Linked DNA regions of Homo sapiens: region 1 is linked to region 2. The links are contacts of gene promoters, found by promoter capture Hi-C in human tissues and cell types (Jung and others, 2019). All regions are on one chromosome and are shown on one strand. The core of a region is centred on a gene start or on the middle of the fragment in contact, and the rest is flanking DNA. Distances in the headings are between cores, read along the strand shown.

What was found. The method cuts DNA at HindIII sites, captures the fragments that hold promoters and counts their contacts. A contact is called where the count stands out against the background at its distance.
Region 1: a contact is called between a fragment that was not itself captured here and the fragment with the promoter of EML4 in region 2, in 1 of the 25 tissues and cell types used here (liver).

The regions. Positions count from the first base shown.
Region 1 is chr2:41,825,637-41,829,434 of GRCh38, forward strand. No RefSeq gene overlaps it. Among named protein-coding and RNA genes, the nearest start is that of LINC01913, 50 kb to the right of the region's middle. The HindIII fragment of the contact is 7,189 bases long and covers 1-3,798 here.
Region 2 is chr2:42,167,610-42,171,451 of GRCh38, forward strand. EML4 (EMAP like 4) reads left to right here and starts at 1,744. Exons shown (of 23, transcript NM_019063.5): 1 at 1,744-2,027. The coding sequence starts at 2,003. EML4-AS1 (EML4 antisense RNA 1) reads right to left here and starts at 2,622. Exons shown (of 4, transcript NR_110584.1): 1 at 2,361-2,622. RefSeq lists enhancers at 1,326-1,465, 1,478-2,130 and silencers at 1,546-1,595, 1,696-1,755. The HindIII fragment of the contact is 12,178 bases long and covers 1-3,842 here.

The DNA.
Region 1 (3,798 bases), core at 681-3,180, 340 kb before region 2:
AATGCCACCCTTTCCTCATTGTTACCACTACTAAAACTTGCCCTACCCATCCCACATCACCCTTTATGGACAATACTCATACAACCCACACTGATAGCCACTGCACTGGAAGATAACAATAACTCTATAGAGCTGGTAGGAAGAGGCTACTTTATAAATGAAAACTGAGGAATCTGAGTGAGGTGAAGGCGCCCTCCCAAAATCACACAACAAGTAAATTTCATAGCCAGTTTTTCCACCATTTCACACCACTTCACATAATCATTTCACTTCACTACATTTCTAATCATCTACCATTTTCAAAGCTCTTTTAAAAATATTATTTTAATTGGTCTTAAGCTGTCCCAGCTGAAAGGAAATGGCAGAGGGCTAGAATAGTGGGAGTGGTTGAAGTCTCTTAGCCAATGTGGGTTGCTGTGGCAAATTCCGACCTCCACATCTGCAAGATGCCTACATTTGTGCTCATATTTGCCCCCTTTGCACTCAACAAATTAAAGCTCCTCCTACTTAAGCCTAATTCCTCCCCTCAGTTTTCGGATCCCACTCCCCATCGCCTCATTTTATTGATTATGCCATCTGTTTCTTGCATCTTCAAACTTACTCACTCTACTGCCTCTTTCCCATCAGGAGATGGGAAAGTTTCCTTAGCCTCATGTCCTTTTCAGAACATAGCCCTTCTCCTTTTGAAGGAGACTGATTAAATGCTCTGCCTTCTTTTCCTCTTCTTTCCACTCCAGTGTAATTTGGTTTCTGGCCCACAACTGCTCTTAAACTTCTCTTACCATAGATTCCAAGGTCTACCTTGTACTAGCTCCAACAGACACTCTTCAGTCCTTATCTTACTTAGCCTGTGCTCAGCATTTGATACATTAACCTCTCCCTTTTTGAAACGGTCTCTTCCTTGGCCCAGGCTTCCCTGGTTTTCCTCCTCCTCTCTGGCCATAGGACATTTCTCTTCTCCCTGTCACTCAAATGCTGATGTTTCAGTATTCTGTCCTAGTCTCCCTTCTCTTTTCCCTTTATACCTTCTCCCAGGTTTCATTTACCATCTATATTACCAGCTCATACAAGTCTCTCAAGCTCCAGACCCATGTAACTCACATCCTGCTAAATTCAACAAGCCCAAAATGGACCAAAATTCAACGAGTCCAAAACTGAACATCATCCTCCCCATCTCAAATCTATTCCTGAATAGCTCAATCTGTGGCATTTTCATACACCAGCCACACTAGATTCTTCTTCTTCCTCATATCCACATTGAATTTTTCACCAAGCCTATTTACCTTCTCAATGCCCTCCTACCTATCTGCATTTCCAATGACACTGCCTTAGTCCAGACTCTCAAAATCTGTCAACTGAAAATCTGCAATAGCTACCTAACTGGTCTCACTGCCCCTAATTGTGTCTCCTTCCAATCTCTTCTTTCAATCACAATGAGTTATTTTCCTAAAAACAACTAAAGTCCTAAAATATGACTCACCACATCATGTTCTATCTTTAAGCCTTTCAGTGGCTTCTCAGTGCCTTTTAGCTAAACTCTCACCTCACCATGGCCTGTCTAGTGGAGCCCTACCTATCTTTCCAGCCTACTCTCCCGCTTGCTTCTCACACCCTGCAACTACCTCCTCTCCTCCCACAGTAAATTTCTTTCAATTCCCAATGCACTGCATTATCTTTTGCTCCTAGGACTTCACACAAGAAGAACTCCCATCTGGAACCTCATTCCTAAACTCCTCCCTCTACTGGCTTCCCCTACTCATCCTTCAGACCTCGGAAAAGGCCACTTTCCGACCTCCACTTGATGAGGCTGGGTCCCCCCTGCTGTGTTCTCCCAACACCCTAATCTTTCCCTGTTGTGAAACTTATCACACCCTTTCACAATTACTTATTTACCTATTTGTTTTCCCCATGAAGCTGTAAGTCACTTGAGAATACTAGTCTATCTTGCTTACCTTAATAGCTATAATGCTGGCACAGTGCTTTGAAGACTCAATAGATATAGTTTTTAACAGACTATACAAGAATAGATAAAAAATTAAGAAATCCAAGCCTGTATGGCAGCTCTCCTGGGACTCAGCAGTCCCCTCTGGCTCATTTTCTGGCTTATGCAACCTTACGGTGACCCCTGTGTGGCACCCTCCCTTATATGAACCAGCGTTCTTTGTTCACATATAGGAGAGTGCTCTGTTTGCTGTAACCTCAGCTTCGAGAAAACAATGCCCATATTGCATTAACCTGCTAGGCCAGCTTCAGAAAGGATCTCTGAATGTCATGATTTCAGAAACCGTAAAGTTACTCCTTGTTCCACTGCAGAAAAAAATACTTTTCCTTGAGCAATTCTTAAAATTCCTTTATCTGTGGGTCAAAGATATTATTTGTCAACTAGAGGCAAGTCAAATGCAAATGGCTTTTAAATTTATACTATGGAAATTAAAATTACAAACCCTAAATTTTTAAATTAACTTTTAATTAAAATTACAGTTAAAAACCAGAAGTCACAAGTTTCTCATAGAGCAGTCTTGAGAGATTAAGAAACTGACCTATTGACATGAGGCTTTGAGAATACTCTGCACTAAGCTAATAATTACACCTTGTTATACAGATAAGAACTGGAAAATATTTACCAGTCAGTTAACTTAAACCCACTAAGAATACAAACATTAGATAGCTTGGAGGGGTAGAATGCTTTTTTGTCAGATTTACATTTTTTCTGTATCTTGTCATCATAAAATTCAGTAGTTTGTACAGAGGTCCCTTGTAGGATTTTTCTCTAACTATAATGGTTAAATATTATACAATCTTTAACCTTGAGACTATAAAACTCACCTACTTATCCGTTGTAGGAAATTGCATTCCCCAATCATTGTTTATTTGTTATAGGAAATTGGATTTTGTAATGTTTAACCCACTGTTAACTGTTTTACTGTTTAACAGAGTGACTTCACTGAGTTTGTTATAATTAAATTAACCAGTATAAAAACAATTCAGATCCTCTTGGGGTTAATGAAAAATCACCCATCTTTTTCCTGGTACTGATTTTGACACAAGTAAATATAAAGAGTGATTACAGCAGAAACATTTTTAAACAATATGAAAAATAACTCAACTTTTTCCTCTACAGCCTTAAAGCATACATGATTGAAGTAGGGCCATTCCTTGGGTAATAACTGGGGAGAAGAGCTGGGGGGAGCACTGGACCCCAGTGACTTTGGGAGGGAGAAATAAAGGGACCCCATGCAGAGGAAGAGGGGAGATGGAGGTAGATTCAAAATGGGGAGGAGAGGGCACGAAACAGAGTGTCAATCTAGAGAGGTAACGTGGGCTAGTCGTTCTCCATGCACTAGTTTGAGTCCCATTTGACCCGGGCTCAAATTCTGGCTCTGCCTGCCACTCATGCACTTTATCATCAAACAACTTGCATAGTCTCCCTGAGCCTTAGTTGTAACATAAGGATCCTAACAGTGAACTCATGGAGGTGAGAGGATTAAAAGAGATGTTTATAAAGCCTTCAGCTCAGTCCTGAGCATGAAAATATCCAGTAACAATGCTGCATAAATAGCCTATTTTGTGGTTGTGGTTGTTGTTAATATCTTCCATCTCACTATTTCACTTAGGCTCAGTCTTGATGACTCAGCTGAGGCACTTTCTGCATGTCCCAGCCATGGGGCAGCCAGCCACAGAGCCTCCACGCATGTAAAGGTGCTGCAGTCTCTTGTCCTGGTCCTCATTCTCACTGCAGTTCTAACCTCAGGGCCCTGACATGGCAGCTCTCTGAGGACAGCTGCATCTTCTCTGGGC
Region 2 (3,842 bases), core at 494-2,993:
ATGCCACGAAGGGGAGTGTGGCAGAAACCAGAGAGCTGTTACCAAAATATGTCTCTTTTCCTTCTGGATACACAGACTACATTCCTAGCCTCCCTTGCAGTCATGTGACCAAGTTCTGGCCAGTGGAATGTGGACAAAAGGGAGGTACACACTTCCAGGTCTGGACCATAAAACATATGTATACCAATATGCCAAGTTCTTATTCTTTTAATCGACCTAAGGCAGAGAGTGTGGCCTGAAGACACAAAGGAACAGCTGTCAGAATTGAGAACTTCTCAAACATTTACTTAGGCTTAATAGAAACTTATGCATATGAAAATGCCCATAGCAGAAGGAACATTGGGTAAATCATTTAAGTTTGAAGAGAAGGAAATTTTAGACACCGTTTAGTCTGTAACCTGAATTTATCTTGGCTGCGTTATGGCCAGTCTCCATATAGTATGGTATTCAGAAACAGGTCTTATATCCAAATAAGAAATGCAAAGTAATTTACATTTTTAGGGAAGATTTTTAAAGAGGCAACAAAGGGAGACGTATACCCCAAGAAGGTTTAACAATCCTTTCAATCATTTAATTCCTCTAAGTCTCTCTCATCATTACATATTTCTTGTCTCCCTTCTTGTTTGTCCCTCTCTCCTGCAACTCTGTGTAGTAGGACTCTGTTTTCCCCTAACTCAGCTTTTTATTATGTATTTATCAATTTATTATGTATAGATCAATTCAGTTCTTCAGTACCTTACAGCTCTTCTCTCTCTTACTCTAATCTGCACAACTGAGCCCCAGGAGGGACTTGACAAACCATGAGAAAGTCTTTAGAAGTATGGGAAATCGTGTTGGGGAAGGGAGGAAGAATATGAACGCTATGTATATTTACATGTTTTGGTTACATGTCCAGACAACCAATTTGCAAATGAATAAAGTGACGCCTAAATAAATTAGGTGATTTGACACTCTTGAGTCATACGGAGTTGGGCCTAGAACTCAGTGTTACTTCATTTGAAATAACCCTTATTATGGTTCCCTAGCAGGCCATCCTATAGCCTGCCATATATGGTCGTTTTGCACCCCTAGACGACAGAACGCTAGGGAGAGTAAGGAAGGCTGAGTTTTTGCTTCTACTAGGTTCGATGACCTTGGGCAGGTTGTCCTCTCTAAGGCTCTGTGTTTTTCTTCATAAGAAGGGTTAGACAAGATGAACTTTTGGGTCATGTCCAGCACTAAAATTCCTTGCTTCTGATCTGTCCCGGGCCCTGCGGCTGTGGCAGTGGTGGTATCGAGCTAGTCAAGAAGCTTCGCCCCTATTTGTCCCCCACCCTATTGGGGGAGAGGGAGAACCTCTCCCTCTTGGTTGCTTCTTTAGTGTCCTTGTAGGACCCACGTGGTGGTCATCTCCCGTCACGGGGGTCCAGTCTTGGCTCTGCGGGCTTCCCAGGGGCCACATAGGGAGAGGATCCTTCATGCATCAGAGTATCGCAGGCCAGAGTCTATGCCTTATCCCCACCTGTTTGGAACCAGCTTCCAAACCGTGGTCCCCAGCCTTCAGCAGGCCTACCGCGCAGGCGCAACCACCAGCCTGGCGCGAGGCGGACAAACGCCGAGGCCGAGGCAAGGTGAGAGGGCGGGGCTGGCAAGACCCCGCCTCCGTGGCGTCACGTGGGAGGCGGAGTCGGAAGTGTGACGGCGTGCGCGGGGCGGGGCTACTGCTGCGCGCGGGCGCGGGGGCGGGGCGGGGCGCGGCGCGGCGCGGCGCTCGCGGCTGCTGCCTGGGAGGGAGGCCGGGCAGGCGGCTGAGCGGCGCGGCTCTCAACGTGACGGGGAAGTGGTTCGGGCGGCCGCGGCTTACTACCCCAGGGCGAACGGACGGACGACGGAGGCGGGAGCCGGTAGCCGAGCCGGGCGACCTAGAGAACGAGCGGGTCAGGCTCAGCGTCGGCCACTCTGTCGGTCCGCTGAATGAAGTGCCCGCCCCTCTAAGCCCGGAGCCCGGCGCTTTCCCCGCAAGATGGACGGTTTCGCCGGCAGTCTCGGTGAGTACGGCTGGGGAGTCCTGCGTCTTCTGCGAAGGGTAGGAACTTTTTTCCTTCCGCACACAGCCCAGGCCCTGCCCTCCCGCCTGCCCCTCGGGGTGGCAGCGGCTCCACTGCACATGTTCCCTTCGAGGCTGCCGCCCCTCCGCGGACTCCGGTGGACTGAGGGCCCCTCCCCCATGTCCAACTCTCCTCTGTGTCAGACCCTCCTTTCCTCCCGGAGCCCCTTTCAGTGCGGGGCCCTCGTTCCCCCAAAGTGGGAACCCCTTCCTTCTCAGGCCCCCCGATAGCTGGCACACCCCTCCCCGTACACTCACGGCTCCCTCCACTTACCCCCCTTCAGAGTTGGGACATTTCTTCAAATCCAGGCTCCTCTTCAGGGTACAACCTTCCACCACCTTTCCACATACACGCCTCTCTTTCAGGGTGGGGATCGCCTTCACCCGAACAGAGGCTCCTTTTTAGGGGAGGGACCCTCATTCCCTCTTCAGGAAGGGGGCATCCCCCGCCCCCAAGTCTTCACTTTAGATTTGAAGGCGACTTTCCAGTATCCTTCAGAGTAGTAGGCAACTTCCTTTTCAATCCCTCCACTTCTCTGAGCATTTTGCAGTGGTGGAGAGACCTAGAAGCATCGGAGCATCATTTGCTTAATGCAGGAAAGGAAGAGGTGCATCTGTGTTGGGGGACCCTCTTTAAGAGTGAAAGCAGAAGTGTTTTCTGGTTCTGCATACATGCTGGGGAGAAGTGATTCTGCCCAATGAATCAATAGGAAAGGGGGCCTCTATCAGGGAAGGAAAGGATTCTCCATTTTTGGAAGATGTTGTCTTTGTGGAATGGAGAAAGGGAAGAGGTTATTAAATAGGCTGAAGTGCCTTTTCAGTGTTCCTTTCACCAGATGAAGGTAATCTTCTGGCTAGGAAAATCAAAACTCCAGGCTAGTATTCGCTGCCCTAGAAGCTGAATCTGGAATTACTATTCTTCGAGGCCATTGAAATCTAGTAAAAGATTAAGTTCAACTGTTAGAATGGTGAGAGAAACAGTTTCAGCTTTGGCTGATAACGCAGTTGTGTGATACCTACTGCTGGAACTGTATTTTGAGTTTTTTATGTGCAGGTAGCTTGTATTCAGACGCCTTTCTTTTACATTTCTTGATAATAAGTCTCTACTTGGTTAATGTTCACTGATCAGTGAGCAGTCTGGCCATAGGCCGTACTATATCCAGATAATATCGAGATGAGATGGATTTTTAAAATCTAAAGTAAAAAAGTAAGTCAAAGAGCAATGGGCCTATTATAGATATTAAATAGTAAAACCTATAATTTTGGCCTTCCCTTTTTCTTGGGCAGAAAAAATTGTCGTTATATTGCTTTCAGAGTGGAAATCCTAAAATAGGAGGCAACTGAGTGTTGTGTTACTCTTTCCTCCTCAAAGGCACCTGTTGTCCATTATCTAACCTTTGATGTCTTGTAATTCCTTACTTAGGTTGGGCTCTTTTTAGAGAGACATCCATTTTTCCCTGGTTCTTTTTTAGCTCCATGCGTTGGTTTATTCACAGTAAGTGTTGGACCGAAAAACTTGTCCTATATGTCCGCTGAAGGGCTGATCTTATACTAAAGTAAAAATTGAGTGTCTTCTTAGGGGATGTTGTGGAGAGCTGTGCTATCTTTATACTGTATTGGGTCCTCATCCTGTAGGAGTGGTGAGATCACTTTAACTTCTTTCGTGTTGGCTCTAAAGATTTCTGGAGGGCTTGTTAAAGCTTCATCTTCTGTAAGTGTTTAGGAGGAGTCTTTCTCACCAGTTGGGGCACTTAAT